4 separate regions of the Homo sapiens genome follow, and regions 2, 3 and 4 are each linked to region 1. Evidence: promoter capture Hi-C in 16 types of primary human blood cells and fetal thymus (Javierre and others, 2016). All regions are on one chromosome and are shown on one strand. The core of a region is centred on a gene start or on the middle of the fragment in contact, and the rest is flanking DNA. Distances in the headings are between cores, read along the strand shown. Region 1 holds the start of PSMD12 (proteasome 26S subunit, non-ATPase 12). Region 2 has its middle 24 kb from the start of PRKAR1A. Region 3 holds the start of PRKAR1A (protein kinase cAMP-dependent type I regulatory subunit alpha). Region 4 has its middle 5.7 kb from the start of WIPI1.

Region 1 (2,818 bases), core at 218-2,717:
TATATATTATTTTGCTATTTTAAAATTTGTTTCTTGGTTGGGCACAGTGGCTCACACCTGTAATCTCAGCACTTTAGGAGGCCAAGGTGAGAGGACTGCTTGAGGCCAGGTGTTTGAGACCAGCCTGGGCTACGTAGTATAGCTGCTATCTCTACAAAAATAAAAAAAAGGTAAAATTTGTTTCTCCTCTACATTACAGATTATAGCTGAGATATTGTCTTATTTTGCTTGTAGATGGTTTATATTTTCCCTGATTTTCATTGCAGTTAAAACAAACAAAGAGATCTATTCAGCATCTATAAAGCGATGTCGGCACTAATTAAATTGAGAACCACTAACATAATAGATAAACCACTCCAAGATTTCCCGTTTTCCTGTTTGCTTTCCAGGCTGCTGTTGACCATATGCCCACACCAAACACAACCTCATTCCCATTTTCTTTACTTTTCTTTTTCTTTTTTTTTTTTTTTTTTGAGACGGAGTCTTGCTCTGTCGCCCAGGCTGGAGTGCAGTGGCGCAATCTCGCCGGCTCACTGCAAGCTTCGCCTCCTGGGTTCACGCCATTCTCCTGCCTCAGCCTCCCGAGTAGTTGGGACTACAGGTGCCCGCCACCACGCCCGGCTAATTTTTTGTATTTTTAGTAGAGACGGGGTTTCACCGTGTTAGCCACGATGGTCTCGATCTCCTGACCTCATGATCCGCCCGCCTCAGCCTCCCAAAGGGCTGGGATTACAGGCGTGAGCCACCGCGCCCGGCCTCATTCCCATTTTCAAGGATCCTAAGCTTTTTTAAGATCTCAAGCTATTTTCTAGGGACCAGCATGGTATGAATGATAACACATAAAACGTGTAAGGCCCTTAAGAATTGAAATTGTCTCACATGTCATCTAGTTTGATGCTCACGAAAATCCTATAGGGATAACAAATATGTCTTTTTAACTTTTCTTTTTACCAACTTAGTGGATTACAGTGAAAATGAAAACAAAGAGAAAAACCACTTTGCTTATTAAATGACTGAGCTGCTGCCATATCTTCTCTTAGGAGCTTTCAGAGATCCCACAGAGTAAGCCACCAAGATTCTCAAGTAGATAAAACCTTAGAATTTTCTATTTTAAGGTTTATTTTAGCCTCCTGATGTAGAGATGAGAAAACCGAGATCCAAGAAAAGCGACTGGCCACGGTCCTGAGAAATCATATTTCGAAGCAGGGGTGTAGGGATATATGAGATGGTCTGTTCTATTACACTCGCTTTTCTCATCGCAAATTTTAGGTAAAAAGTCTGATGTTCCCAGAGACAAAACCTGACGCTGCAGGCTGGAGTGGCGAGTCCCGCCCCGCGCGCCTCAAGCCCCACCCCCAGGCTGTCCGCGGCAGTGCCTGAGTGGCAACCAGCGCCGGGGACCTCGAGGGGTCCTTTGCGTGGGCTCCCGATGGGCTGCCTGAGCGGGTGCGCGGGCAACTTCCGGTGTGGGTGACGAGTGGTGGCCGAAGCAGGGGGACAGCAAGGGACGCTCAGGCGGGGACCATGGCGGACGGCGGCTCGGAGCGGGCTGACGGGCGCATCGTCAAGATGGAGGTGGACTACAGCGCCACGGTGGATCAGCGCCTACCCGAGTGTGCGAAGCTAGCCAAGGTGAGGAGAGGCCGGCTGGCTGTTGGCGGGCGCCAGGGGCTGAGTCACGGCGCGGAGCCTGCTTAGGCCTCAGGGGGCCTGCGGGCTGGAGCGTGCACCCCCCAATGCCTGTCCAGCCCTAGTTGGGCCTGCACGAGTGGGAGACCCCAGGTCGGCCCGGCCAGGGCTGCGGAGTACGCCAGCGCCTATAGCTTCCCAGACCCTCCCCAAAACAGATGGTCACTTCCCTCCGTGGGACTTAGGGCTCCGTTTAACTTTTTGCCGTTTCTTGGATGCTGTTTAAGTGATATTTACCTTAGTAGTTTCCCAGGGGTTAAGGCCGCTTCAGTATTAAGGCTAGATCAGAGAGTTTCGTTCTGTTGCTGTTGCTCAATCAATTTATGTCGTTACATCGTTTGTGGATCATGGCTATGTGCCTGGTCTTTGGCCAGGAGAAGGGGCAGGAAAGTGATAGTACGAAGATGACTAACACAGGACCCTGTCCTTTAGGAGTTGATGTACGTGATGAATTAGTCAAGTCATGCATGGTGGTGAGGGCCATACAAGGGGAAAGTGTTACTGGAACACCGAGAAGGAAGCTATGCATTCTTAATGGTGCCATAAGGGAAGGTTTTACAGGAAGGCTGACGTTTGTATTGGGTCTTGAGGAATTAGTAAGATTGAGGTGGGGTGGAGTCATTACTGAAGACGGAACTACAGAAGTAAAGACAAGTAGGCACTATAAGAGTTTAACGGGCTTTCCAAGAAACAAGGATGGAGAAAGGTGATAAAGTTGGTACGTATGTATATCTTAGGTTCAGTATGCTTGCTGAGGGGGAGCCACAAATTCATTAAGAGCTTTCTAGCAGCTAGCATCAACAAACATCAGTTACATAAGGGTGGGAAAACTCAGCCGCCTCCAATGCCAGACAGATAACAATAACTGATATTTGTTGAGTAGTTTCTGCAGTGTCAGGCACCGTGCTTACATGCACTAAGCCATTTGATCCTCACCTCAGCCCTATGCGATGGCTATTACTATTATCCTTATTTTACAGGTAAGAAAACTTGGGCTAGAAAAAGTTGAATCACATGCCCCAAGATCATACAGCTAGTAAAGTGGTGAAGCCAAGAAGCAAACCCAGGCAGACCGATTCTAGATTCTGGAGCTGGTGCCCTCACACACCATGCTGTCCTGCCTAGAAGC
Region 2 (2,819 bases), core at 302-2,801, 1.1 Mb before region 1:
CGTCTCTACTAAAAAGAAAAAAAAAAAATTTGCCGGGTGTGATGACACGCACCTGTAATCCCAGCTACTTGGGAGGCTGAGGCATGAGAATCACTTGAACCTGGGAGGCAGAGGTTGCAGTGAGCTGAGATTGCACCACTGCACTCCAGCATGGGTGACTCTTTCTCAAAAAGAGAAGTATGTGTGTATATATATACTTTCCATATATACATATATATATATACACTTTCCATATATATATACTATCTATATATATAGATATACTTTCCATATATATATATTTTTTCCATTTATATATATATATACTTTCCATATATATATACTTTCCATATATATATATATACTTTCCATATATATATATACTTTCCATATATATATATACTTTCCATATATATATATATATATACTTTCCATATATATATATATATACTTTCCATATATATATATATACTTTCCATATATATATATATATATATATACTTTCCATATATATATATATATATATATATACTTTCCATATATATATATATATATATATATATATATATATATATATATACTTTCCAAGATGGGTGCTCACTTAGTATTTACCCAACCTCTATCCTATTTCTCCTAGGAAAGCTACCTAAATCTTTAACCGATAACTTCAATCTGGTCAGCCCCACCTCTGGGGTTTAGAAATAGCCCAAACTTATTCAGACAAGCCTTAGGAAAAATCTGAGCATTTTTTTTCAAATTTTTAAAAAATAAAAAATAAATATTTTAAAAATTGTGTAAAGTGCTTTACACACACAGCTTCAAGACAAGCCCAATTCAGACACAGGATAGAGAAAGAGCCCTCTGAAAGCTTATTTCTCACACCATATCCACCAGGGAGCCTGACATCCAGTTCCATAGTTTCTTCACTCCAGAGCTCAGGTCTAAAAGGTGACCTCTTTATAGAACCATGTGGCAGAGGGAAAGGAATGATGGAGAAGCCCACGCTGGCTCTTTTTTTTTTTTTTTTTTTTTGTTTTGAGATGGAGTCTCACTCTGTTGCCCTGGCTGGAGTGCAGTGGCATGATCTCAGCTCACTGCAACCTCTGCCTCCCAGTTCAAGCAATTCTCCTGCCTCAGCCTCCCAAGTAGCTGGGATTACAAGCTTGAGCCACATCATCCAGATAATTTTTTTTGTATTTTTAGTAGAGATGGGGTTTTGCCATGTTGGTCAGGCTGGTCTGGAACTCCTGACCTCAAGTGATCCTCCCACCTCGGCCTCCCAAAGTGCTGCGATGACAGGCATGAGCCACTGCACCCAGCCCCATGCTGGCTCTTAAAGCTTCTTCCTGAGAGGGACACTTGCCACTTCCTCTCTCATTTCATAGGTCAAAGCAGGCCAGAAGCCAATCAGGTTGTATATATGGGACAGAGAAGCCTTGCAATGGCGTGCAAGCTCCTTAGATCTGGCCACTGTCAGACTCAGACCTCAGCTCTTCTCTCCTGCTCCCACCTTTCTCCAGCCACAGACATCCTGGCTGTTGCTCAAATAAGCCAGGCCCACCTCGATCTCAGGGCAGGCTGTTCCCTCCACCTGAAACATAGACCTCCCCAAACAGCCTCAGGGCTCACTGCCCCACTTCCTTGGGTCTGTGCTCAAAAGCCACCTGGCCATCTTCAAATTGCAACTCTCCCCATGCCACCCCCCTACTCCCCTGTGCTTCATATTTATCACGATCTGACGTATTACATGAATTTCTCTAGTCTGTTTATTCCCTCTCTCTCTCTTTCATACAAACGTAAGCTTCATGAGTGCATTTTTTTTATTTATTTTTGAGTTTTTTTTCATTATTATTGTTGTTCACTGTTATGCCTCTGATACCCAGAACACTATCTGGCACAAAGAAAATGCAAAATAACCACAAAACCACTTTTCTTTCCTTTTTCTTTTTTCTTTTTTTTTTTTGTCTGAGATGAGGTCTTACTCTGTCGCCCAGGCTGGAGTGCAGTGGCGTGATCTCAGCTCACTGCAACCTCCGCCTCCTGCTTCAAGCCATTCTCCTGCCTCAGCCTCCTGAATAGCTGGGATTACAGGTGCCCACCACCAGTCCCGGCTAATTTTTGTGTTTTTAGTAAAGATGGGGTTTCACGATGTCGGTCAGGCTGGTCTTGAACTCCAGACCTCAAGCAATCCACCCGCCTTGGCCCCCCAAAGTGCAGGGATTATAGGTGAACCACCGCGCCCGACCCCAAACCACTTTTCCAATAAGTCAATAATGAATGAATGAATACAGAAAAATTATTAGCACAGGAGAAAGTCAGGAAACGTTGGCTTAAGTTATAACTATATGCCTCTCAATATATACCATAGTGTTAGGCTAAGTAAGTATTGATTAATTAACTTGGTAGCCTTCATTTGAAAACACTAGAATGTAAAAATGTACCTGGAGGTAAAGTTTATTTCCCAGCAGTTGAATTATAATGTTGGTTATCTACATTTTTCTGATTTTTATTAACAAAACCATACTTTGAGATTTCCCTATGTGCCAGGCACTGTGCAATGTGTGTACATGAATGTCTTATTAAATTCACATAACAGGCCGGGCGCAGTGGCTCACGCCTGTAATCCCTGCACTTTGGGAGGCCGAGGCGGGCGGATCACGAGGTCAGGAGTTCGAGACCAGCCTGGCTAACATGGTGAAATCCCATCTCTACTAAAAATACAAAAATTAGCCGGGTGCGGTGGCAGAAACCTGTAATCCCAGCTACTGGGGAGGCCGAGTTGGGAGAATTGCTTGAACCTGGGAGGCGGAGGTTGCAGTGAGCCGAGATCATGCCACTGC
Region 3 (2,700 bases), core at 49-2,548, 1.1 Mb before region 1:
CCAAAATTAATGCAGTCACCATGTAAATCCCTGAATAACCAGACTTCACAGTCTTAATATTTTTAATCGAGTTACCCGGATTCTCTATGTGTACTTATTTGTAAAGCCCAACAACCTAGCCTTCCCTCCCCACACACAATTATTTAACTGCTTTAAAACTTTCGCTGCATTGTCTCTATGTAAAACAAAACACTCAGATTCATTCTTTTGAAAATTCAGTTGTGACAAAATTGTTTCGAAAGGATTACATTCTGGGAAATAAATAAAAACACTTTGAGAAACTGTTCCTGATTCAGACCGCACCCCCTTAGACCAGCCAAGTTACGGCTCCCCTAGGGTCATCTTGAGTAAGTGTTTGCTTTCCTCGCTCTGCTAAAAAGACGGATCTCTTGGGAATCTCTCAAGGAGTAGGACGGTCGTCACCACAGGCTCTGAGCTGAAGAGGTTAATAGGTACCGTGTATTTTCTAGAAGAAGGGCAGGAAAATGCCCTTCACTTCACGTAGGCCACGGTCATGACCACAAAATGAAGGGAAGCCGAGACTTCAAGCTACGCCAGTCGGAAGGCCACAGTGGTGGCGAGGAGGCCTCAGGGGGGCAAAATTGGGAAAGGGAGAGAGGTGAAAGGGGACAAGAGGAAATTCAGGAGCCCGACTAAGACCGTCGTGTTGGGGGAAAGATCACTCCGCTATGAAGAGGAAAGGCTACTGCTAGCAATGACGAGTCGTCAAAAGTGGAGAGGAAAACTACCGGCTTACAAGAAGAGCCAGGACCGGCGGACGAGACGATGGCGGACCCCAGTAAAATAGAGCCGTTGTCCTTCAGGAAATGGGGGAGGGTGAGCGAAGAGGCCGCGGCGCGCGGGGGCGAAGGCGGCCGGGGAGGGCCGCGGAGGGCCCAGGGCCCCAGGAGCCGTGGGGTGGGGGCAGCGAGCGCGAGCGGGGCGGCTGGGGAGCCCCGCACCAAAGCCAACGCCCAGACGGCCTTGAGGATGCAGACTCGGAGCCGGGGGCGTGAGGCCTGCGGGGAGGCGCCCGCCGGGCCGGGGAGGGGCAGGGGGTGCGGCCGTCCCCCTGCAGGTCGCTCCCCGTGACGCCATCTTGGATCGGTCCAGCTCCCGCAAACCGGCTGCGAAGCGACGAAGCTCACCTCGCCTGAGCCCCCGGCCGACCCCACTCACCTGGGGACGGGCGGCGGCGGGCGCGAGGCTGCGGGTGCGAGGCGGCGGCGTACCGAGCTCCCTCAGCGCTTTGCTCCCAGCCCCGCTCCACTCTGCGATAGCGGCTAGGCGACAGCTCCACCGGAAACGGCCTGGCCGCAGCCAATCAGCGTTCGGCTACTGACGTCAATGCGCCTCGCTCTGGCCAGAACCGTCGCCTTAGCAACCTTAAGGGCGCAACAGCCCCAGTTCCTCCCCCCTGGTCGCTCTTGGAAGGACCCTCACTCTGCGGTCGTTCGTCTTCCGCCATTCTTTCCATCTTACTCGTCCCTTATCCACAGCAGTTTCCTCACGCCCGCCACTTCTCCTTTCCGCAGTCTCCCTAGCCCGGTTCTCTCCTCCTTCCTGCTCACCTGCCCCTCCTTACCTGTCCCTCTCTGGGTGTCTTGGGTCGCCTTTGTTCCTCCGCCTGCTCTTCGCTCTCTCTCCGCGCAGCTATCGTGCGCTTCCCTCTCGTCCCTCCGCTCCTCTGTCCACCCCACTCTCCCTCCGGCCTCCCTTGACGCCTCTGCCTTTTCTCCCTCCTTTCCACCCCCTCCCTGGCCGACCCACGTGGGGCGTCTCAGATGACAGGTGGGCGACTCCTCCCCGCAGCCCCTGCAAGGGAGGGCCCCGGGCCGGGGCGGGGAGAGTCCTGTCGCTGCCAGCCCCCGGAGGAGGTGGCGGCCCCCGCGGATCTGCAGCAGCTGCGCTGCGGGGCCGAGCGCGGGCGGATGGCCGGGATGCGCTCTCCGGGCCGCGCATCCTGTGCCCGGCCAGCGCCGCCCGGGCCCCGGGCTCAGGTCAGTCATCCGGTCCAGGAAACCTGAGCCCTGCCGAGTCTCCGCTGGGGCCGCTCTCCCCCGCCGGGGGTGCTGTCGTCTGTGCAGGCAACACCGTCCCTGTGGAAACCAGGCACGGGAAAGGACTTTGTCAGGGTCCAAGAGGAGGCCTGAGTCCTTCTAGAACCTGAAGTGCCCCCCCATCACTCCTGACCTCACAGAGGGAGAAGTGCAGAGCGTGCAGATTGTCAAAAATGCCCTGTGACCCAACAAGAAATCGCAGCTGTCCAGACAAGCTGCACTAATGGGGAAAATTCGGAGGAAAAGCGACTTTACTCTTTCAGCCATTTTTTTTTTCCATCAGAGTATCTGTCTAAGGAGGAAGAAAAGGGAGACGGTACAATTTTAGACACATCAAGTCTGTAACTCAATAAAGAAGGCCCATCAAGGAAACATGTCCAAGTGTCTGGCTAGGGGCTGCTTTAGTAGCATTGTATATATTTCTAGGGCCGTGTGCTTAAAATTCATAATGGATTCAACACAATACAAAAAAGCAAAATACACACATATGCAAGTGTCCAGGAGCTGTTGTAGTAACATTGTATATACTTCAAGGGCTGTATGTTTAAAGTAAATCATGAACTCAACACAATACAAAAAAGTAGCTCAATAGTGTTTATATTGATTCCAGATTGAAATGATAATATTTTTGATATATTAG
Region 4 (2,700 bases), core at 3-2,502, 1.1 Mb before region 1:
GTTGGCCAGGCTGGTCTCGAACTCCTGACCTCACGATCCATCCGCCTCGGCAATGTCAGTTTTATTAACTTCCTGCAGCAAGAGGGTGTGCACATCAAGTGAACCATGAGGCATCTCAGTAAGAGGCTGTGGGAAAGGGCTTTTTGCCAGGTTTGTGTTAAGTTATGCTAGGAAGGGAAAGGTAGAAGAAACAGGAATCAGGTCAGGAATGGATGTGTTGTGAAGCAGGTGGTTTCATCATCGGATATCTCAGAAATTTTTGTTCAGCAAGTGGAGAAATCGAGTGGGTCTGGGAGAGGCTTTGATAAGAAAGGATTAGATATGCCAATGTCAGTAATTTTGCAGCTACAGTGTGGCCTTGGGTTAAACACAGTTTTCACCTGGCCTTGTGCTGGCCTTGTTTATGACTGTTGGGAACATTCCAGTCTGCTCATCTGAGCTGATTTCCATTTTCTCAGGTTCCCACATGAAGTAGTGGGTGTTCCTGGAAGAAAGGGAATCTATCTTTAAATAAGCTTGGAAAGTACTTGGGAAACAATGTTAAATAAACATAATGCTGGGCTTTCTGGAGACTTGAACGTGCTAAAGTGAATTGTGAATCTCCCAAGACACCTTCAATTTCTTTTCAACACAGCTGTCTGTGTCGAATTCCAGTGTAAGTCAGAACTTCCAGTGATTTCTCAGGTCACTCTGACCTCTTTGCCTGTAGTTCTCCCCACTCTTCTCCCCACTCCAGCGGCCCTGCCTCCTCGCTGCTCTTTGAGCTTTTTCCCATATGACTGCATAACCTGCTCCCTTTTCTTCCTGAGGTCTTGTTCAAATGGAAATTTTCAGTGGGGCCTTCCCTGCCCACCCTATGCAAAATTTCTCCTCCCTACACCCCACACTCCCAAACACACTTTCACTGCTATACATTTCTTAGCACTTATCACCATCTAAGATACTATACATCTCATTTTTCTTGTTAATGGTCTCTCTGCCCAGGTGGGCAGGGGTTTTTATTTATTTTGGACAGCGTCATATCCCTAGAACCTGGAGCCATGACCGGCACACAACAGGCACATGATAAAAATTGGTCAAATGAATGAATGGATGAATGAATGAATATACAAACTCCTTCCAAACTTCTCCTCCTTCAGAGGAAGTGGTGAGGGAGGCTTCTGTGTTTTCCATTTATAGACAGTAAAGAGGTTTTGGAAAAATACACAAGGGAGCCTCAGAGACTTTCTTTTGGGGCTTTAGGACTGGCTACCCATATCTTATCACTCAAGCCAGTTTTTCCTGAGGTGTCCCCCCAACCATCCTAGAACTAAATCATACAGACCACTAGATGGCACTGTTCACCAAGAATCTCGGGATTCTTAGCCACGCCCCTCTCACCCTAAGCCCAAAGCCTTTGAATCCACCTTCTTCCCAGGGGTGACTGATTCTAGAGAATGATTACCACTCCCTGCACCACCGCTAGACTAGAAAGAAACCTAAAGTCGTACAGCACGTTCCAACAAGCCATGCCCAGCCAGGAGCACAGGCTAACTCTCTGCTTGGGAGCAAAGGACGTTTTTGAATATTTCTAGATGTACCCTTGGTAAATGTAGGCAAAGTGCTGGTGCCCTTTGAAGAGCTGCAGGACTCCACACTCTCCCCCTTGTACTTGGCCCGTGGCCCTCTTGGCACAATTCTGCCTCTATCTCTTCACCCCTTGCTCCTCTGTCCCTTCATAGGATGAAGCACAGGTTAAGATGCCAATTCTATTTCCAGCCTTGAGCCAAAGCAGTCCAAGAGACAGCGTGACAGGCAACCTGGGCACCCAGTGGAAGGGACAGAATACAAACTACACCTGCATCAAAAACTGTCCTAGGGCCTTTGGCAACTTACTCGACAGTCTCCACTTTGGCATATGCAGCTGCCTGATGGGGATAAACATTCCTAGACCAGATAGATGTGGTTAGCGTCACATGAGAAGATCTATGACGCTCCAAACCAAGCTTTCTATAAAGCTTGGTCTTCTATTTTCAAGTATCGCCTATAATTATATTCTAAAATTTAAGGCAGGGTGATTGGCTGACCTGCTGAACCCGTCTCTGTGTTCTTGACCAGTGCGAAGATGCCTCGGTGAACAAAAACACCTTGATTGAACCTCTCTGCACTGGCATGGGTAACAGACTCTCAGCTCCAAGGACATTAGCAAAAGCACTTGTAGAAAGCAACTGTCTTCGTGATCATCAGCCAATCAGCAAGCATTTATTGAGAACCTGTAATTCACCTTGGTGTTTTAGGAAGGCTATTCTGGAGGCAAAAATAAGACAGGTGAGGGGAGAGAATGAAGATTAAGACATCAATTCACTCTTTCATGAAATAACATTTTTCCTGACTCTTGGGAAGGAATATATAAGTCAAGGAATATTAGAAGTGTTGTTAGTTTTTGCTCCCTGTCTCTCCCCTTTTAATCAATAAATCCAGAAATAATGGTTCCATTTGGGGGACAAGGGCACATGATAGGGCCTCTTCATTCACTGCAGCCATGCTATCTCACACACACTGTCTATAATTAGAAACAGAAAACCCAGTTGCACCTGCTGCTCGGCCAGACTTCTGGCTGGGGCTTCCTGCTTGCCAATCAGTTCGATCATCTCCTTTCCCAGAAATCACCCCACAGCCCAACCCCTCCTCTTCTACCCTGGCACCATAGGGCTGACTCCT

The links. Contacts are between HindIII fragments. The CHiCAGO score rates a contact against its expected background, and 5 or more counts as called.
Region 2: a contact is called between a fragment that was not itself captured here and the fragment with the promoter of PSMD12 in region 1, in 1 of 17 cell types (naive B cells). The highest score is 5.2, in naive B cells.
Region 3: the fragment with the promoter of PRKAR1A here is called in contact with the fragment with the promoter of PSMD12 in region 1 in 1 of 17 cell types (total B cells); the score reaches 5.3 in total B cells.
Region 4: a contact is called between a fragment that was not itself captured here and the fragment with the promoter of PSMD12 in region 1, in 2 of 17 cell types (total B cells and fetal thymus). The highest score is 7.3, in total B cells.

Annotation. Positions count from the first base shown.
Region 1 is chr17:67,365,226-67,368,043 of GRCh38, reverse strand. It overlaps PSMD12 (proteasome 26S subunit, non-ATPase 12), which reads left to right and starts at 1,467. Exons shown (of 11, transcript NM_002816.5): 1 at 1,467-1,632. The coding sequence starts at 1,525. RefSeq lists enhancers at 1,262-1,571, 1,592-1,651. The HindIII fragment of the contact is 3,672 bases long and covers 786-2,818 here.
Region 2 is chr17:68,486,927-68,489,745 of GRCh38, reverse strand. It overlaps a transcript of PRKAR1A not described here. Among named protein-coding and RNA genes, the nearest start is that of PRKAR1A, 24 kb to the left of the region's middle. The HindIII fragment of the contact is 462 bases long and covers 1,321-1,782 here.
Region 3 is chr17:68,511,028-68,513,727 of GRCh38, reverse strand. It overlaps PRKAR1A (protein kinase cAMP-dependent type I regulatory subunit alpha), which reads right to left and starts at 1,298. Exons shown (of 11, transcript NM_002734.5): 1 at 1,180-1,298. RefSeq lists silencers at 828-1,337, 1,758-2,117 and enhancers at 1,408-1,497, 1,251-1,824. The HindIII fragment of the contact is 13,629 bases long and covers 1-2,700 here.
Region 4 is chr17:68,461,797-68,464,496 of GRCh38, reverse strand. It overlaps a transcript of PRKAR1A not described here. Among named protein-coding and RNA genes, the nearest start is that of WIPI1, 5.7 kb to the right of the region's middle. The HindIII fragment of the contact is 1,470 bases long and covers 518-1,987 here.